Regions from separate parts of the Homo sapiens genome. Here region 2 is linked to region 1. The links are contacts of gene promoters, found by promoter capture Hi-C in human tissues and cell types (Jung and others, 2019). All regions are on one chromosome and are shown on one strand. The core of a region is centred on a gene start or on the middle of the fragment in contact, and the rest is flanking DNA. Distances in the headings are between cores, read along the strand shown. Region 1 holds the start of DNAJB13 (DnaJ heat shock protein family (Hsp40) member B13). Region 2 holds the start of KCNE3 (potassium voltage-gated channel subfamily E regulatory subunit 3).

What was found. The method cuts DNA at HindIII sites, captures the fragments that hold promoters and counts their contacts. A contact is called where the count stands out against the background at its distance.
Region 2: the fragment with the promoter of KCNE3 here is called in contact with the fragment with the promoter of DNAJB13 in region 1 in 1 of the 25 tissues and cell types used here (dorsolateral prefrontal cortex).

The regions. Positions count from the first base shown.
Region 1 is chr11:73,949,164-73,953,237 of GRCh38, forward strand. It overlaps DNAJB13 (DnaJ heat shock protein family (Hsp40) member B13), which reads left to right and starts at 1,863. Exons shown (of 8, transcript NM_153614.4): 1 at 1,863-1,974. The coding sequence starts at 1,907. The HindIII fragment of the contact is 16,389 bases long and covers 1-4,074 here.
Region 2 is chr11:74,465,215-74,469,288 of GRCh38, forward strand. KCNE3 (potassium voltage-gated channel subfamily E regulatory subunit 3) reads right to left here and starts at 2,335. Exons shown (of 3, transcript NM_005472.5): 1 at 2,184-2,335. The HindIII fragment of the contact is 14,037 bases long and covers 1-4,074 here.

The DNA of each region.
Region 1 (4,074 bases), core at 613-3,112:
AAGAAAAAACAAATAGAAGTTAGCTGGGTTGAGGCGAGGGTCTGTGGTGGGTGGGGTGGGAGGTTCTGAGCAGAGGTAGCAGCAGAGGTGAATGAGGAGAGGGGATGGCTGGTTTGGGCAGTGGCAGGCACTGCAGTCCATTCTGACAAGCAGTGGGTGCGTGTAGGGCAGTGGTGAGAGCTCAGGTGGAAAGGGAGGCACCAGATCACAGAGGGCCTGTGTGCCATGGTAAGCAGTTTGGAGTTCACTCGAAGTAATGAGGAGTGTGGGCTTTGCAGAACAGAGACAAGGCAGGCAGGCCCGCGAGGAAGTTGTTGTGGTCTTGCTGAAAGATGAATCCAGAGCTGGGCCCTGATTATGAGGAGGAAGAGCAGAGGAGCTGGGCTTGAGAGGTTGTCTAGGAAGCAGAATGGACTGAGCTTGGTGACCAGTTGGATTTGGGATGTGCATGGAAAACAGGGCTCTGCTGTACTCAGAGAGGTGGAGCATAACTCCCTCACTGTAAGGGTGGGCCGCACAGTGACTGCCTTCCAAAGAGTGCAATACAGCAAGTGGGGAAGGAGGGCTGGCGCGGTGGCTCACGCCTGTAATCCCAACACTTTGGGAGGCTGAGGTGGGTGGATCACTTGAGGTCAGGAGTTTGAGACCAGCCTGGCCAACATGGTGAAACCCCGTCTCTAGTAAAAATAACAAAAATTAGCCGGGCATGGTGGCACATGCCTGTAATCTCAGCTACTTGGGAGGCTGAGGCAGGAGAATCGCTGGAACCCGGGAGGCAGAGGTTGCAGTGAGCTGAAATTGTGCCACTGCACTCCAGCCTGGGCGATGGAGTGAGACTCCATCTCAAAAAACAAAAACAAACAAACAAAAAGAAAAACACCAAACAAATTCCAATTGCAGGACATTCTACAAAACACCTGACCATTATTACTTAAACTGTCAAGGTCATCAAAAACATGGAAAGTCTGAGAAACTGTCACAGTCAGGAGGCACCAGAGGAGATGCAACAGCTAAGTGTAACGTGGCATCCTGGATGGGGTCCGGAACAGAAATAAGATATTAGGTTAAAACAACTAGTAAATCTGAATAAAATGTGGATTTTAGTTAATAATAATGTATCAATATTGGTCATTATTTGTGACAAATGTACCATACTAATGTAAGATGTTAATAATAGGGGAATGTGAATGCAGTGGCTCACACCTGTAATCCCAGCACTTTGGGAGGCCAAGCCGAGCCCAAGAGTTCAAGACCAGTCTGGGCAACATGGTGAAACCCCATCTCTACAAAACATACAAAAATTAGCCAGGCATGGTAGTGCACGCCTGTGTCTCAGCTACTTGGAAGGCTGAGGTGGAAGAATCCCTTGAGCCTGGGAGGTTGAGACTGCAGTGAGGTGTGATCCTGCCACTGCCCACCAGCCTGGGTGACAGAGTGAAGACCCTGTCTCAAAAACATGATAATGATAATAATAATAATAAAATAGGAGAATGTGGATGTGAGGTATATGGGAACTCTCTGTACTGTCTTCTCAACTTTTCTAAACTCTAAAACTGTTCTAAAATAAATGTATTTTTAAAAAATTAGCCAAATGCATTTCTTCTAAAACCTTTTTATTAAAACTAATTACTGCTCTCTTTAAAAACAAAAACAAAATAAAACAGAGCCCTGTGAGTCTTCAATTTCCGAGTTGAGTGACCTTTCACAGGGTCGCAGAATCAGCCCCAGCTCTCCCCCAGTCCTTTCACTGACTCCTCTCTGTGGCAGAGCTGAAATTTGTTTAGGGAAGTGGGACTACAACTCCCAGAGTGCACCTGTGCGGTTGTCAGGAGCAACCAAGGAAGCCAACTAACAGCCTTGCTAGAGTCTGAGGACTATCCAGGGCCTGACTGCCAGCTAGCCAGCCATGGGCCAGGATTATTACTCTGTGCTCGGGATCACTCGCAATTCAGAGGATGCCCAGATCAAGCAGGCGTAAGTTGGGGTGGGAGCCAGGCCTTAGGGGTGTGCTGGGGCAGGCCCTGCCCTCTTCTCTTCCAAAACGAGCTTTCCTGCACAGCTTAGCGCAGACAAGGTAAACCTTGTTCCTCCTTTCACTTCTTGCATACCTGTATCCTGGCTTTGGTCTGGGTCAGGGCCCAGGTTGGAAATTTGAACTCTTTAGTTCCTCAATCTGCTCCCAACCCATCTCCCTTTATGCTCCATGCCCTATATCCTCTCCTGGGTGCCTTGCTTTTCCCAGCAATGAAGTGGGGACAAAGGAGCCATTTGAACTTTATCTTGAATATTATGGAGAACCAGAGGCTTGTGAACAAGGGAGTGGCCAGGCCAGATGGATGTTTTAAATTCAATTCTGGCCATGATGGAGGTTTTCAGCATTGACTAAACTACATTCCTGAATACTTCCATCGGATCTTAAGGACGTTCTGGCTCGTTCCTAAGAAAGCCTACAACAGGAGTCAGTACATTTTTCTGAAAACATGTTTTTGTTTTTTGTTTTGAGACGGAGTCTTGGTCTTGTTGCCCAGGCTGGAGTGCAATGGCGTGATCTCGGCTCACCGCAACCTCCACCTCCTGGGTTCAAGCGATTCTTCTGCCTCAGCTTCCCAAGTAGCTGGGATTACAGGCATGCACCACCATGCCCAGCTAATTTTGTATTTTTAGTAGAGATGGGGTTTCTCCTTTTTGGTCAGGCTGGTCTCAAATTCCCGACCTCTGGTGATCCACCCGCCTCAGCCTTCCCAAGTGCTGGGATTATAGGTGTGAGTCACCGCACCTGGCCAAAAACATGTTTTTTTTTTTAACAAATATTTATTGAGCGTCTACCACAAGGGTTGAGAGGGTACTTCACTCCTGCTGCAGTGGTAGCAGCTGGAGATAAATGTCGGAATCCGACATCGACACTCCCTTACCTCATGCAGCTAGATTTTGTTGCTGAATAGATGTTGAATAAGTCACCACAACTGTGATGAGTGTTACAGAAGAGGAAGTATGGGGGGCTGTGGAAGTTATCTTGGAAGGAGAGAGACCCTTTAGGAGGCTGTTCGTGGTAATCAAGGCAAAAGATGAGGCCAGAGAAAGGGGAGGGAATGGACTTGGTAATTAAGTGGATCACTGGAGGGTGAAGAAAAGAGGAGTCCAGGATAACTCAATCAATTAAGTTAGGCAGTGACAATAGGTGTATGTTTTGAGTGTGTAGGTGCTGTTCTGAGAACTTTCCATCACTGTTTAACCCTCACAACAGCCCTGAGAATTAAGTGCCATTATTATCCCACAAGTGCACTAGTAAATGGTGGAGCCAGTGTTCAGATATCAGGCCTCCCAGAGTTGCCAGTCATGGGCCTATTCCTGGGCCAGGTCCTGTAGGGGATCAGTGGCATAAGTGGAGAGTCTGCGGTGTTGGAGAAAAAAGACACAAACTCATGAAAGGATCTGAGAACAATTCAGGACAGTGTATGATGTCACCCACTCTTCGGAGCATCTCATTGACCAGAAGGACCCATCCAGGGAAAGGTAATCAGGAGGAAGGGCAGTGGGCGTGCAGAAAGATAAGCACAGCTTAAGCACTGGAAAGGGCTGGATCAGAATCCAGATTCACTTACCTGCTAGCTGCGTGACCTGGGCAAATTACTTAACCTCTTTGAGCCGAAGTTTTCCCATGTCTAAAAATCATCATCATAATAAAGGTTGCTGTGAGATTGAAATAGGATTAGATGAGATAATGCATGTGTCCAGCAATCATTTGCATGTGAAACCATGTCATATAAAGAGTGATTAAGGCCTGGCATGGTGTTTCATGCCTGTAATCTGAGCACTTTAGGAGGCCAAAGCAGGAGGATCCCTTGGGCCCAGGAGTTTGAGAGGGCAGCCTGGGCATCATAGGGAGACCCTGTCTCTACAGAAAATTTAAAAATTAGCTGGGCATGATGGCACACACCTGTAGTCCCAGCTACTTGGGAGGCTGAGGTGGGAGGATTGCTTGAGCCCAGAAGGTAGAGGCTGCATTGAGCTATGATTGCACCACTGCACTCCAGTCTGGGCAACAGAGCAACACCTGTCTCAAAAAAATAAAAA
Region 2 (4,074 bases), core at 1,085-3,584, 520 kb after region 1:
GCCCTGATACCTAGCAGGCATTCAAGAATAAATGAATCAATGCCTCTTCTCTAAGAGCATTCCCCCGCTCTGGCACACGCACATACATTCATGAAAACAGTTTACAATATTTAAAAAGCAACCTCCAGGGCAGGGCAAAACAGATTTCATTTGGTCTGGGGAAGGGATGGCTCAAAGAAAAGAAGCCATCTCAGTCAGGTGGGGTGAGTCAGAGGAGGAAGAATTCTAAGCCTTCTTTGGAAGCCCAGATGCTCCCTGCACCTGGACCCCATTCAATCCAAAGGGCAAACATTCTTGGCCTCAAAACACCAGCAATGGCTTTGCAACCCTCTTCCCTGTGTACCTACCCAGGGTGTGGCCACATACACCCACCCACTGCACACACACACACAGTCCAACTCCCCAGTCCCTCAGCCTGTGATCTTGCCGTTCAAGTGTTCCTTTCATGATTCTAATCTTGGCTGTATGCTTGGCTCTGTGTCCTTGAGCACTGCATTTACTTCCTCTGAACCTCATCTATAAGATGGGGATAATGATCCCTGCCCTGCCTACCACACATGAGAACTAGAGGAGACAAGAGATGGGAATGTTTTAGAAATTGCAAACATACAAGATAATTATCAGGCAGGCTGGTCACACTGTTTTCCTTTTCTGTCTCCACATCTTTCCTTTCCCCCCATATTACCAAGAACAACCATCTCTGTGTCTCCTTTCCCACTCCAGGTCTCCTAGCCTCAGAAGCAGCCAGGAGGTTCTTATTATTCTTCTTGATTCCCAGGAACCTCACCTTCTCCAGAAGCCTTCCTGTTTCCTACCCTCTATGATCATTCCCGCAGTCCCTTATCATTGAGGGGTACCATTCTGTAGTCCTGTAGCTGGTGGAGAACACATCAGAGGGGGAATCAGGAGACCTGGGTTCCTGCCCCTACTAGGCCAACACGTCTAGCCGTGCGTTTTGGTTAAGTAACTTTATCACTCTAAGTCTATATCCCTCTAGGCCTCATTTTCCTCATCAGTAAGATGGAGTTTCTTGTCTTGCTTCCCTCTTAGAAGGTATTTTGAGCACTCGCACATTAAGTTTATGGATGTGCTTTGAGACGTATAGACTGAGTGAGGGATGGAGAAGGTGATGGTTATCATCTCAAGGAGTCAAGAAAATCTGAAAGCAGCTTCTAGGCCCCCAGCATGGGTCTTCCTCCATCAGGAACAGACAAAGTGGACGGATGCAAGGAAATAAGGAGGAGCTCACACGTTTACAACATGCCTTTGTAGGTGAAGTGGAGAGAGCCCTGGGCTAGGACTGAGGAAACTTGGGTTCTAATTCTGTTTGGTCTCTGTTGTAACCTTAGGTAAATCATCTCCCCTGGGGCATCAGTTTCCCTATATGCAAATTAGTGGAGAGGATTTTAGGAGGGATACTCTGGTGGGCTTTCACGCAAGAACTAAACTCATTTATTTTCGAGATAAGAGACTCTGAGGTCCAATCCCCCTTTCCCCTTCTGTCCCATGGGGTATGCAGGCAACAGGAGCAGGAGGCCCGTTTTACAAATGGTGGCCCAGGAAAAGCGAGCACAAGGCGCAGAGCTGAGGGATGACTGCCCGGGTTTACACAGCCTGTAAACTAGAACTCAAGTCTCCCGACTCCCAGCCTCGACCTATGTTACTGGCAGCAGAAGATGCTTTTGGGAGTCACCAGGTTTCCCGGGACTAGGTCAGACAGGGTGAAGGACACAGTGAGGTGTAGAGGGAATGGGCAAGTCAGCTCCGCAGAGCCGGTGGCTCCAGCCAAATGAGACTGTGCTGGGTCCTGAAATGTCGTTTCTGCGTGTGCACTGGCTGCCAGCTGCAAGTGTTCGCTTGCACGTCTGTGGGTGTGGAGGAACTTTTCTTGTGGCCGTCTTGAGGGCTGGGAATAACGGCGCAAGTCCCCACGGTTTCCAGACGGGGCGCGCAGAGCCCAGCTCCCTACTCCCACATGCTGCTCCACGATCACTGCGCTCGGGAGGATCGGGGAGGATCCGGGAGGACTAGCTTGGTATTTGCAGCGCCCACCCCTCCCCCACTCCCCCTCGGTTCCACAGTCTCACGGAGAGCGCGCCGTGGCCCTTGGAAGGGAGGCGGGAAGACCCCTCATTTCCACCCCAGGCCGCAGCTCAGCCTTCCCAGCTGGGTGGGTGCCTTACCTGCCTCTCAGCAAGGCTCCGGGGCGCCCGTTTGCTCGCTGGACACGGCGCCCTCTGACCGAGGGTGGCCCAAGCGCTGCGACCCTGTGCATTCCACCAGCCCCGTTCCACTCCGCGGGTGCCCAGCACCGCCCAGCGCGCTCTCTGGCTCTGGGCTCCCACCCGCGCTCGGCTCCCTTTTCCCTCCCCCGGGCGTCCCCTCCCCCTGCCCCGCCCGGGCCCCAGCACACCCACTTCTCCCCGGGCTGGCCTGGAGTGCCTCCGCCCAGCTCCTTGGCCTCCCCCGGCTGTGGGCTCCGACCCTTCCGTCCCCTGCAGCGCCTGCTTCCTGGACCAGAGACCGAAAGCCTCTCGCTCCGCTGGGCCTCAGCAAGCCCAGCATGAGGCCGATCTCCAGGAGTCGGTTTTGCTCCAGTGTGGCTGTGTGGTGGTGGGCGAGTCGCTGCCCCTCACTGGGCCTTGGCCTGGCTGTAAAGTTGGTACAGTTCCTCCATGCATTCTTCACAGGCTTATGGTTGAGGTCAGATGAGACCTTTGAGTCCAAAGTATTAAAACCAAAGGGTCAACAGCAAAATAATATGATTCTTACACAAACTCTTTTCCACACAGGACGCAGAGGCCCAGTTGGAGAAGGGATTTGCCCAGGTAGCAGAGCCCAGACCCAAAATCCACTACACACCCCTCTGTCTCTGAGTAGCACCAGCAAATGTTTCCTCCACCAAGCCTCAAAAGTTCGTGACAGTGCCTGACCAACTTGTGTTCAGCCGCACCTTACTCATCTCTGTCCCAGAACAGTTTATTTTCCCACCACCATGCCCTCACTCAAACTGTTGTTTCCTTGCTGGTGACATTGCAGGCTTCAGAGAACTGGGGCAGCCGGGGCAGCTGAGGAATAAGAGCCAGGAGGCTAGTGGCAGAGGAAGGGACAGTTGCAGAGAATTTCTCCGGGGGACCCTGTGGGGTGCCCTTTTACCAGCTCACTGCCTCAGAATAATTAATAACAGCCTCAGGCCAGCTCTTTCACTCCCTTGCAAAGGTCTGCTCCAGGATATCTGAAGCACATACTCTCAATTACAGAATCCCAGAATATATCTAAGAAGTGCTATCGTTTTAAAAAGACCTACTACAAGGTGGGTATATTGTATATTGTATACAATATACAAGGTGGGTATATTGTACCCACCTTGTTTTGACCCTACTATTCCTTTTTCTCAGTCTGGAGATCACCTCTCAGAAAAGTCATCCTAATCACCTAAGCATGCAATCTCAGTTTCCTTCCTTCCTTCCTTTCTTTCTTCCTTCCTTCCTTCCTTCCTTCCTTCCTTCCTTCCTTTAGACAGGATCTCACTGTGTCACCCAGGCTGGAGTGCAGTGGAGTGATTATGGCTCACAGCAGCCTTGAACTCCTGGGCTCAGGTGATCCTCCTCCCTTAACCTCCTGAGTAACTGGGACACACCACTATGTCTGGCTAATTTTTGTATTTTATAGAAATTGGGTTACTCCATGTTGCCCAGGCTGATCTCGAACTCCTGGGCTCAAGTGACCTGCACACCTCCACCTCCCAAAGTTCTGGGATTACAGGCATGAACCACTGTGCCCATCCTGCAACCTCAGTTTTCAATCTGCCTAAGAATCCCCTGGGGAGCTTGTTTTACTAAGTAGACTTTTGGGCTCCACTCCAGAGGTTCTAATTCAGGAAATCTGGAGTAGAGCCTAGAAATCAGCATTTTCAAACAAGATTTCCAAATGACTCTGATGCAAATGGTTCTTGAGACTAGCCATGAGGAAGCAGTCCTGGCTTGGTCAGGGTTCTTTCTCAGATCCTGCCCACGGCCTTGCATTTACTCTGTAGGACTGTCTATGACAGTTATAGAAAGTAACCATTTGTCC